Regions from separate parts of the Homo sapiens genome. Here region 2 is linked to region 1. Evidence: promoter capture Hi-C in 16 types of primary human blood cells and fetal thymus (Javierre and others, 2016). All regions are on one chromosome and are shown on one strand. The core of a region is centred on a gene start or on the middle of the fragment in contact, and the rest is flanking DNA. Distances in the headings are between cores, read along the strand shown. Region 1 holds the start of FANCC (FA complementation group C). Region 2 has its middle 38 kb from the start of HSD17B3-AS1.

Region 1 (5,862 bases), core at 1,566-4,065:
TTAAATGCAATTCCTACAAAGTCTATCACAGCACGGTTTTCTGAAAAAAAATAACAAACTGATACTAAAATTTATATGGAAATGTAAGGAACCCTGAACCGCCAAAACAATTTTGAAAATGAAGAAAAACATTGGATAACTTACACTACTTAATTTCAAAACTTACTATAAAGCTGCCATAATCAAGATAATGTAATGCTGACATAAAAGGCATGCAGGTCTCTTACCCTCAGTCCCGTATTAAACTTGAGTTAGAAGATGCCAATCTCAAAATGGAGGTAAAACCATTGCCTGCTAGCCCCCAGTCCAACTCTGGTGGCCAATCTGAATTGTTACCAATTTTATTTTTCCAGACACGGTCTCAGTCTGCTGCCCAGTGTGGAGTGCAGTGGCGCAATCACAGTTCACTGTGGCCTCGACCTCCTGAACTCAGGTGATCCTCCACCTCAGCCTCCCGAGTAACTGGGACCACAGCCCCGCATCACTATGGCCGGCTAATTTCTTAACTTTTTGTAGAGACAGGGCTCTCTCTGTTGCCCACGCTGGACTCGAACTCCTGGGATCAAGTGATCCTTCCGCCTCCGCTTCCCAAAGTGCTGGGATTACAGGCATAAGCCACCATGCTCTGCCTGTTATCTGAATTGCCTTTCCTTCTCCACTTCTGCATTTTTATTAAAACATTGCAAAACTTCCAAGGTGCTTCTCCTGTATGTATTTTTTCACATTAAGTCAATCACTCAAGATCCACAAACAAGACAGAGAATGCACATATCCCAGCCTAAAATAAAACTTTTAAAAATCATTTGGTGCTCATTTCCAGCCCGATTTGAGGCCCTAACACTACCAACTTGGAACTACCACTCATGTGAGTTTCCTCTGGCTCTCTCCATGGCCCAGATAATCAATCCAACTTTCTACTGGCCAGGCTGGCCTCCCTGTAGCTGGTTCTCATAAACACGAAATTTGTATAATTGTTATTGGAACTACCTGCTGAAATATGGAACTGGTTAAAAGTACCATTTGTTTTAAAATGTACATGCACAGTTGCACATACATGCAGCAACACATCTTCCACAACCAGCCAATCAATCAAGTTAATGCTTTTTATTAGAGGACAAAACAAAAAATACCAATATAGAGCCTGCTTTTCTTTTCTGATGCCTTGGTAAACGTTTTTGGAGAAATCAAGAGAAAATATGACCGAATAAAGCAAAAATAAATTCGAATGTATAATATACAAAGTATAATTAGTCCAGTTCTCAAGAAGCAGGCTCTATTACTGGGAGTAGTGGGTTGGTGAAAAAGATCTCTGATATATCTAGGAAAACAAATTCTTTTTCGATGCAGCCTTTCTTGTATATGAATAATGTATATGAGTGCTTATTTCCAGGTGACTCTGGTACAGCACATAACATTGAAACATCAATTCAAGTTTAATGTATAAAGTCGCAATGAACATGTTTTCCATCTAAGCTTAGGTAATGAATGATCTCAACACATGGTATGAATTCTACTGTTTGTAACAACCTTTCAGGGGAGTAAGGAGAAAACGATCTGTCTGAGGGCATATCACTGACAGTGAGTGACAGCCACAAAGAGCTGAAGTTGGGTGGCCCAAAAGTGCTCTGCTCATTTGATAAATGCTAAGTCAAATCACATCACAGTTTAGATGCATTAAATGGGGCACAAGTTAGAATAAAATCAGATGCCCGGGAGTTTTCCAAGTTTCAGATTAGAACAAAAGTCCAGGCACATACAGGACTTTGCTAGAAAACTCCTTGGTCTCTTCCCTTAAGATTCTGGTACCCAATTTCCCATGTTATAAAACTCCAAGTCTTTTCCCCCATTCGGTGCGCTGGACACATAAGATCATAGAGGGTTCGTAGTTGTAAACGCACCCACCTAAAAAATTAAAAAGAGCAAACCAACAAACAGCACCTGAAAAATCTCTCACGGGCTTTGAAGATATGGCCTGGCGTCCACAAAAAGAATGGAGGGAAGACACTGGCCTCTGCGAACCCGCCTCCCTCCGGGAATAAAAGGCGGAGGGCGGGAGGGGTAACAGCCGCGCCCCGGGCTCCTCTAATTGGACCTCGCCCCTCCTGGCGCCCCGGCGAATGGGGTTTGGGGGCAGGGGTGTGAGGGACGGGGAGGACGAGGCCAGCTGTAGAGGGCGACCGGCTCAAAGGGGCGAGCTTTTCACGGCTCCCACGAGTCCGAGGCAGAGAAATTCACCTTTGCTCCTCTCCTTTGAAGAAGACATAGCTGCCTGCGCTCAATGAACAAAAAGAACCAAAACGCCAACACCCGGCTCCCGCCTCTCCGGGGGCTCCCTTCCGCGCGACCCCAGCGCCGGCTCCCGCCCCCGCTTTCCCCGCCCTGGCCCCGCCCCGCGGGCTGGCACCGCCCGCCACCTTCCGCCTCCCGCCTCCCGCCTCCCGCCTCAGCCTTAGCCACAGCCCTGCGCCGGCGGGAACCCCTCTCGCCCACCGCAAGGCGCGCCTGGCCCACCCGCTCTCGCGAGCCTTCCCTCTTGCCCCTCGCCTCCTCCTCCCGCTCTCGCCGCTGACGTGTCGGCCAGACCCCCGAGGGAAGCCTCCGCCCTCGCTGCGTTCTGCGGCCTGCCGCTTACCGGGTGGTCCTCGCGGGAGCTGCTTCAGCAGTTTGGGCAGTGGCGGAAAGGAAGCCACCGCCCGGGATCTGTGGCTTGAAAATTTGGCTTTGCCTCGTATTGGCTTTTTGAGTTTTTTTGGAATTTTCCCGCGGTCGCCCGGCAGTGGAGCCGCGCGCGCGCACACGTGTCAGCAGTGCATTCTGGGGCCTGGCTAGCGGCCCCGCGCGCTCCCGCGGCGTCGCGGGAAAATTCCGACGAATCTCGGGTCCGTGGGGCGGGGCGGGCGCGGCCAGGGCTCTGGCGGAAGTGGGCCCGGCTGGGGCGGGTTCTAGGCGAGCGGAGTCGGTACTGCTCCAGTGTTCCCGGTTTCGCGCGGAAGCCCCGGCGGGAGCAGGGTTGCAGCAGCGCCCGCGGAGAAGGGGCGCTGGCTTCTTCCATATTCTGTTCAAAATGTAGGGGAGGTAAAATGGAAATTAGTTCTTTTGAAGAAAAGTTGAGGCTTTGTCAACGGGGTAAAACCTCTAAAATAAGATTTTCTAACTGCGTTCTAAACAATAGCAACAAAAAAGGCATCTTCAGTTAATGATTTCCCCTACCGTACATTAGTTCCATACAGTGTTTGGTCGGGGTTCAAATCAGTTCAACGCTGTACATAAACCACCCAAACAAATATTAATAAAATTTTCTCCAAACTCCCATTTATGACAATGGCATTAGCTTGTCTTGGTGAATTTTTTTTTCTTCTAGGATCTGACGACTTAAGCTTTAAAATGTCTTAAATCAATGCCTCACAACCATAAATCATAATCATAAAACTACAGCTTAGGTCGGGCGCTGTGTCTCAGGCCTGTAATCCCAGCACTTTGGAAGGCCAAGGCGGGCGGATCACGAGGTCAGAAGATCGAGACCATTCTGGCCAACATGGTGAAACGCCGTCTCTACTAAAAATACAAAACGTTTAACCGGGCGCGGTGGCGGGCGCCTGTAATCTCAGCTACTCTGGAGGCTGAGGCAGAATAGCTTGAACCAGGGAGTCAGAGGTTGCAGTGAGCCGAGATCGCGCCACTGCACTCCAGCCTGGCGACAGAGGGAGACTCCGTCTCAAAAAAAAAAAAAAAAAAGCTACAACTTCACATATACGTTCAAAAACACACTACAGGCCGGGCGCGGTGGCTCACACCTCTAATCCCAGCACTTTGGGAAGCTGAGGCGGGTGGATCACCTGAGGTCAAGAGTTTGAGACCAGCCTGGCCAACATGGCAAAAACCCGTCTCTACTAAAAATACAAAAATTAGTGTGTACTCCCGGCTACTTAGGAGGCTGAGGCAGGAGAATTGCTTGAACCCAGGAGGCGAAGGTTGCAGTAAGCCAAGATCGCACTACTGCACTCCAGCCTGGGCAACAGAGCGAGACTCTGTCTCAACAAAAAACACCACAAAGCTGTGTGTGCTTGTAATAAAAATAGCTCTCAAGTATTTAAACATGTCCAACTATTCCTATGGTGAAGAAATACCCGTTTTACCAATGAATACTTTCAATTCAGAGACTAATTTGCAGAGGTTATACATTTATAAGTGATACAATAAGTATATAGCATAGCAATAGCAACAATCTGTTTAAGAATTAAAGGTAGTTAAAAAAAGGAACCGATCCAGAGGTTGAGACAAAACTGGCAGAATCTGCAACTACATTAAGGAATTCGGTGTTTACATCCATTCTCGAAACTATTCCATGCCAGTTAAGGAAGTCGGTGCTTTTTGATTGTTTTTTAATTTTAGATTCGGGGGTACATGTGCTTGCTTGTTACATAGGTATATTGTGTAATGGTGGGGATTGGGCTTCTGGTGTACCTGTCCCCCAAACATTGAACATTGTACCCAATAGCTAATTTTTCAGCCCTCACCCCCTTCCCACCCTCTCCCTTTTTGGAGTCCCCAGTGTCTTGTTATTCCCATTCTTATGTACATGTATACCTATTGTTTAGCTCCCGCTTATGAGAACATGCAATATTTGATTTTCTGTTTCTGAGTTTGTTCACTTAGGATAATGTCCTCCAGCTCCATCCATGTTGCTGCAAAGGACATGATTTCGTTCTGTTTTACAGCAGAGAGGTCGATGTGTTTTTGATGTGTGCATAGTGTGACATGGATAAATCAAAAGCAAGTCCTGGGTAGGGAAATACATGCCTGAGGGGCACTCATCGTGGCACCTTGACCATGAGAAAGTCACCTCTGTGGTAACAAATCGAGAGTGAGTTGACGTTTAAGTTCTGCATTTATCAGCAAAGAAAGCAATTAAAGTATGTATTTCTTGAGAGAAATTATCTATTTTGGTACCCACATCCTTTTACATATTCGCTGAAAAATCATTTTTAGTGTTTGTTAATGATTGATGTCTTGCCATATCCCAGTTTTCTGTCTTTTTAGTTCAGTGGTTAATAAAGAATTGCTAGGCTCATCCAACTTTGCAGTATATGAAATGACACCATGTTTAGGCCTAAATTAGACCTAAATAGGAAGCATATATAGCATAAAGATCCAAACTTATATTTATAGGGATTCATTTTGCCTGGCATTCATATACATGGAACTATCTTAATAATATTTTAAGCAATAGTGAGATGTTCACTTTGTAAAATGCCCAGAAAGTTTCCAGAGAAACAGATATTTCAATACAAACCCTCTTTTTAATTGAATCATAAAATTGATTATGGGTGATCCAATTTTTGTTTGTGTGTGGGAGTGTGTGTGTGTGTGTGTGTGGTTTTGATTTGTTTGTTTTGAGACTGCATCTCACTCTCACCCAGGCTGAAGTGCAGTGGTGCAAACACAGCTCACTGCAGCCTCGACCTCTGCGCTTAAGCAATCCAACCACCTCAGTGGCACCAAAATGCTGGAATTACAGGCGTGGGCCACCGGGCCCAGGTGTGTGTTACTCTGGAACACAGTTTTGGTTGTAGTATAGAACCCAATCACAAATAATGTCGCAAAATGAAAAATGGCCTATTTAGGTGAAAATTATTACATCGTTTACATTAAATCTTTACATTCTAGAGGAAAACAAGTCAATTGGCTGAGTGCTGCAAAGTTCCTGACATTATCAAACCTTCCTTCAAAGTTCAACAAATAGAATCAACTGTCTTAGAATCCACGTTGTGGAAACCATTGTACCAAGACTCCTACTTCCAGAATTAGTTCAGACACCACCCACCTGGTTTCCAGTCCTTATTTGGCACCCCAACATTTAAC
Region 2 (5,925 bases), core at 1,225-3,724, 890 kb after region 1:
AGTAGCTGGGACTATAGGCAGGCGCCACCACACCCATCTAATTTTTTAAATTTTTGTGGAGTTGGGGTCTTGCTATGTTGCCCAGGCTGGTCTCAAACTCCAGGGCTCAAGTGATCCTTCCACCTCGGCCTCCCAAAGTGCTAGGACTATGCTTAAGCCACCGCACCCAGCCATGGGTTTCTTTTTGTTATTGGGCTGCATCTCCAACACTTTCATCTTGGTGTTTGATCTAATCTCTCTGGAGACGGATGGATAAAAGTCAAACTTTAACAGTAGTGCCCGTTTTGGTTCATGAAGACAAAATAATTCTGCTCCTCTGAATCCATTCCAAGCATAGCCTTGAGTCCTTACACTGTGAGAACTACTTGCAAGCTCCCAGAGCGCTGCTGAGAACATGGAGATTTGCCTGTGGCTGAGATGGTTCCCTTTCGGTTACCAGGACATTTCCAGTTTGGCTGCTAAAAGCCAAACATCTTTCTTGTGAGCCATTCCCCTGAGATGCCCAAGTCAGCTCTCAAACCCAAATCTCACATTTTCCATTGTGTTTGTCAGCTACGCAAAGAGTGGGCTTACCCCCAGCTGCAAGTGGCTCTGAGAAACCTGCATCTGATTTAGCGTTCCGCTAACAACTCAGCACTCCCAACAGGTTGTGGTCATATGAAGTAGGGTCACAGTACTGCTTACATGCACTCACATAGCTATGTGTGTCAAACAGCGAACACTCCTTCTGCCACGAGGAGGGTCTGTCACAGTTTCAGTGCCAGCCCCGGAGGCCTGGGCTGCCTCGCCGCCTCCTGAGGGCACTCTGGCTGGAGCGAGGAGGGGCTGTATGGATGCCAAGCGGCTGTTGAATAAGGAGATGTTTGCCTTGCTAGACCTCCCCATCCCATCTTTTCCTTAGACATATACCCAGATGTACCCACATGCACCCACACACATCCACAGGCATCCACACACACCCACATGCATCTATACACACCCTCACACCCACACACACCCTTTGCCTCCTCCATTCAGAACTGCCCGTGGTCTTGCCTTTTTTCCACGAATAAGCTTCAATTTCATGGCAGCAGAAAAGAAAAAAAGCACTGCTATCAAAGTCTAATGCTGTCTTTGATGTTGGTTAATAGCAATACAAACAGAAGCTTATTATAGGAAGTGATCACTCTCACCAGACTTTAACACACCTTAGACTGAAGCCTAAATGAATGAAGGGATAGAGAAGGAAGTCACCTCTGAAATACCCTGGGCTTGCAGGGTAATAGTGTGCAGACAGGTTTTGAAGTCAAAGCCTCCAGCAAGGCTTGCTGTATCGCCTCTGCAGACACTGCAGCAGGGGCCTCCTTCACAGTTTTTATTGAAAGAGATTTCAGGCCTTAATTCTTCCCTCTGGATCCTTGGTAGTTAAAGAAGTGAGGCTTCATGAGGTTAAGGGGTTGGGGGAGCCATCATGTCTCCCCTTTCCTCCCCATTAGGCCCTCCAATGCTTTGCTGAGGGACTAACCACGACACGCCGATGACAGGTCCCAGTTTGGGGAGTCCCTTGGAGTGAGTGCCACCTGTGGGTTGTGTCTTGAGGCCCTGCTAGGGAAAACCTTCCCTTAAAATCACCCAGACGTGCTGGCCTGACATTTTGTCATGGGCAAGGGCCATTCGTTTGGGGCTGCTGGTTTTAAGGACTCAGCTCCAGGAAGAGGAAAACTCCTATGGGTCAAAAGCCAAATCAAAGGCCCCCGGACACAGCCTCAGGGGGGCAATAGGGTTCAATGGTTAGAGCCAAGATCCTGGAAACAGAGGCCTAGCTGTGTGATCAGGGCAAGTTACTTCACTTTTCCTTTCTCTTTTCTATGAAATGGGCAGAGGAGAACCCACCTCCTGGGCCCAGCATGACAGAGAAACAATGGAGGGTATGCCTCACGCACATCACCAGTGCCTGGCCCTGGAAAGGGTGAGGAGAGCTCTTCCTATTCTTAGGACCGCGCCTTCAGCAGAGGGCGTGAGGAAGCTAGGAAGAAAGAAGGACACCAGGCCACAGGAAAGAGGAAAAGCAGCTTTGGCTGAGCTTGTGATTCTGGCTCTCTGTTCCCTTGCTAACCCCTCATTAGGGCAGACGCCAGAATCAAGATCATGTAGGCTGGGTGCAGGGGGTCACACCCAGCACTTTGGGATGCCAAGGTCGAGGATCACTTGAGCCCAGAATTCAAAACCAGCCTGGGCAACATAGTGATACCCTGTATCTACAAATAATAAAAATGAAAAATTAGCCTGGCGTGGTCATGTGCACCTGTAGTCCCAACTACTCAGGAGGCTGAAGTGGGAGGATGGCTTGAGCCCAGGAGGTCGAGGCTGCAGTGAACCATAATCACACCACTGCACTCCAGCCTGGGCAACAAGTGAGACCCTAACTCTAAAGAGAGAGAGAGGGAGAGCGAGAGAATGTGTAGAAAGCACATGAAGTGAGAGAACATGTAGAAGGCAGGCCTGGCACGTTATAAGGGCCCAACTACTCTTACAGAAATTGGATATTTTGTAATGCAGTGAACTGGGGGACGAGCCTGTCAACATTGGAAGTTCACGATCCAGGAGCTTCATGCATGGTCCCCATCAACCAAGACCCATGGTTTCTGCCTTCCTCTTCTTTGGGGTTACCTCCTGGAGCCTCCTACCTAGAGAGCAAGCCTTGCTTCTCCTGTTCCATTTGGAAGAGTTGACCCCCGAAACCTAGAGTTGGGGCACCCCATCTCAGTGTTACATCCACCACTTTCTCAGGGGATGGGATTCTTATGCAAAGGGCTTTTGGAGGCCTTGCCCAATAGCTCAGAATTTGGGTGTAAGCATATAATTTGTTCTTCAATTAGATATTGTCTTAGCCTGGACCAAGTGTTGGCAGGAATTGGTAGCTGGTGGCGAGGTGAGGAGAGGGCTGAGGACAGGGCAACGGGGACGTGAAGGACTCAGGCTGCCGCATGGCTAGGAGGCATTCTTGGTCCAGCTAGGACCTCCAGGACAATGTTGACTAGAATTGACCACAGCAGATATCCTTGACTTGTTTGCAACTTCAGGAGGAAAGTGTCCAATATTTCATCTTTGTATAAGGTGTCACCCACAGATCTTTCGGAGATATCCTTTAGTAGATTATGGAAGTGCCTTTCTATTTCTAATTAGTCATAAACAGGTGCTGGATTTTGTCTAATGCTTTGTTTAGAATCTATTGAGATTATCATGTGACATTTTTTCTCCTTTATTCTATTAATATGATTATTATGTTGAATTTTAAACCAGCCTTATATTCCCAGAAAAAAAAGCCACTTGTTCATGATGTATTATCTTTTTTATATATTTTTGTATTTTATTTGCTGCCTGCCTGCTCATGAGAGATGCAGGCCTATACTCCCCTTTCTTATAATGTCCTTGTCAAGTTTTGATATCAATGTTATGCTGGCCTCATAAAATGAATTGAGAAATGTTCTTTCTTTTCCTAGTCTCTGCATCTTTTCTGTACTATTGATATTATTTCCTCCCTAAATATTTAGACTACTTCTTGACATCTGTGGTTGTTTTTAAAATAAGTCCACAAATTCTTTGATACTCTTCTCTTCAAGTGGTGGAGCTTAATTCCCTTTCTTGTGCATGTAGGCTGGATTTAGGGACTTCCAGCTAATGAGTGGAATAATGGCAGGCCACATCCAAGATTAATTCATGAACTGCAGCTTCTGTCGTGGGTTCTCGTCCCCGTCTCTCTCTCCCCCATCAGTCCCCCTAGAGAATCCACTTGCCAGGCTGGGAGCTGCCAGTGAGGACCCAAAGCTTCCCAACAACCATGTGAGTGAGCCTGAAGTGGTTTCTTCAGCCCCAGGCAAGCCTTGAGGTGACTGCAGGGCGACAGCTTGACTGCAGCCTCATGGGGGGCCCTGAGCCAGAACCACCCATCTAAGCTGCTTCCAAACTCCTGACCCTCAGAAAGCAGGTGAGATGAGAACACGTGTTGCTTTTAGCTGCCATGTCTCAGGGTGATTTGTGATGCACCAACAGGTGCTGTGGCTCAGAAGTTAGCTCTGTTAAACTCACCTCTTGCTTGTTCGTAGGATACCTTTACATTCCACTGGAGCACATCCTGCATTAACTTCCTAAAAGGAGTATAAGAGTGGTAAAATCGGACAGTTCTTGCAAGTTTGAGATGCCTTCATGTTATCCTCACACTTGACTCATAGTTTGGCTGGATGTAGAAAACTGGGTGGGTCATAAGTTTTCCTGAAAAGTGTGAGGACATCACTTGACTGCCTTCCAGCTTCCAGGACACTATGGGGAAATGCAATGTCATCATGATTCTTGTTTCATTGTGTGTCATTGCTTTTTCTTCTCTTCTAGAAGCTTCTGAGATATTATTTTGAATCCCTAGAGTTATAAAGAATGAGTGTTTTTTCACTAATTATGAAATTAATGGATTCAGTGCAGAGCAGCTCCACATGGCAGGGCTTTCTGTGATGAGGGAACATTCTTCATCTGCATGCCCAATATAGCAGCCACCACCCACACGTGGCTATCACACACTGGAAATGTGGCTAGCACAACTGAGGAATGAAATTTTCATTTCATTTAATCTCAATTAATTCTCATTTCAACTTAGTTAACCATGGTAGCTAGTGGCTACCATCTTGAACAGTGCAGATCTAGATATCCTGCGTACGTTCTGATAAAGTGCCTTTTTCTTTTTTATTTCTTCTCCTTTCTCTGGCTTCATTTTTGGGTTCATCATTGTTAGATATCCTTGATTGGTCCTCTTAAGCTTCTTACATTTATGTTCTTCTTGTCCATCTCTGCCTTTTTGTTCCTCCTTTGGAACATTCCCTTTGTTTTCTACTTCAACTTGACTTTTTTTATTTTGCTTTTTTTCTTTAAGTTTCAAAAGCTCTTCTTATTGTCAGATTGTTTATTTTTAAAGGGTCTTATACTTGATATATGGATGCATTATTTTACTTTATCTCTGAGAGGTGGTTTTTTTTAAGTTTTTGTGTGTTCTATGCATTTTCTCTTTCCTCTACGATCACCTCATTCTGTCTCTGTCATGTGAGTGTTGCTCTTTAATGTCTGATAATCTGGGGCTATTTGCTCATATTTAAGACTTAAGTGTTAAAAGTCTGAATGAAAGCTTTGAGGGGTTGGCAGAGCTTCTTAGTGTGTGAGAGTCCCTTCAGAGTCCTCAGGTGACAAGCGTCCTGATGGAGGTCCCTAACAGGTCAGTGTCAGGAGGTCTCCTCTCTGGGTCCATTTCGTTTCTTAAGGGAAGCGTCCTTCAGTCCCGTGCCTGCAGGAGGGCGGGGCCACTGGTGTGTGACTGCCTTCCCATGTTCTGAGAGCAAAGAAAGGTAAGAAAGCTGGAGACCTCACCATTCAATATGAAGACGTTCCCCATATCCCCCCATTTTTAACCCTGCATCTGACCTCTCTTCTGCACTGCGCTGTCTGATGGCCCCTAGTCCAGAGCAGAAGAGCTGAATTTCTCACCAGATAACTCTCCAGCCTCCTGAGGGAAGAGGGTGGCAGTTGCCTGGGTGAATGGGCAACTTCATCCAGACCTTTATCAACCCCTTGGTTTTTGGCTTCACTGAGCATGGCACCTGGTGCCTTTGAGACCTGACAGGTTCTAGGGGATAAGGAAGCTCCTTCTCACTTGTGTCCCCTCTGCTGACATTCAAGATGGACATTTTTGGCCTGTTCTGTCCATTACTACTTCTTCAGCGTCTCTCTATCTTTCAGGGTTGTCCTACAGTCTCTCTTCTACAGCTATGTTGGCCCTTGTGGGTTTACCTTTGTATTTCCTTTATTGTCATCCTGGTGAGCTTTTGAAGGGATAGGAAACAAACCCACGTGGCCCCTCCGCATGTAAGAGGCCTTCTTTGTTTTTGAATCTGATTCGAGTTCTCC

The links. The method cuts DNA at HindIII sites, captures the fragments that hold promoters and counts their contacts. A CHiCAGO score of 5 or more calls a contact.
Region 2: a contact is called between a fragment that was not itself captured here and the fragment with the promoter of FANCC in region 1, in 1 of 17 cell types (endothelial precursors). The highest score is 5.0, in endothelial precursors.

What each region holds. Positions count from the first base shown.
Region 1 is chr9:95,314,894-95,320,755 of GRCh38, forward strand. It overlaps FANCC (FA complementation group C), which reads right to left and starts at 2,816. Exons shown (of 15, transcript NM_000136.3): 1 at 2,633-2,816. RefSeq lists a silencer at 2,168-2,487. The HindIII fragment of the contact is 1,904 bases long and covers 1,472-3,375 here.
Region 2 is chr9:96,205,581-96,211,505 of GRCh38, forward strand. No RefSeq gene overlaps it. Among named protein-coding and RNA genes, the nearest start is that of HSD17B3-AS1, 38 kb to the right of the region's middle. The HindIII fragment of the contact is 2,662 bases long and covers 1,144-3,805 here.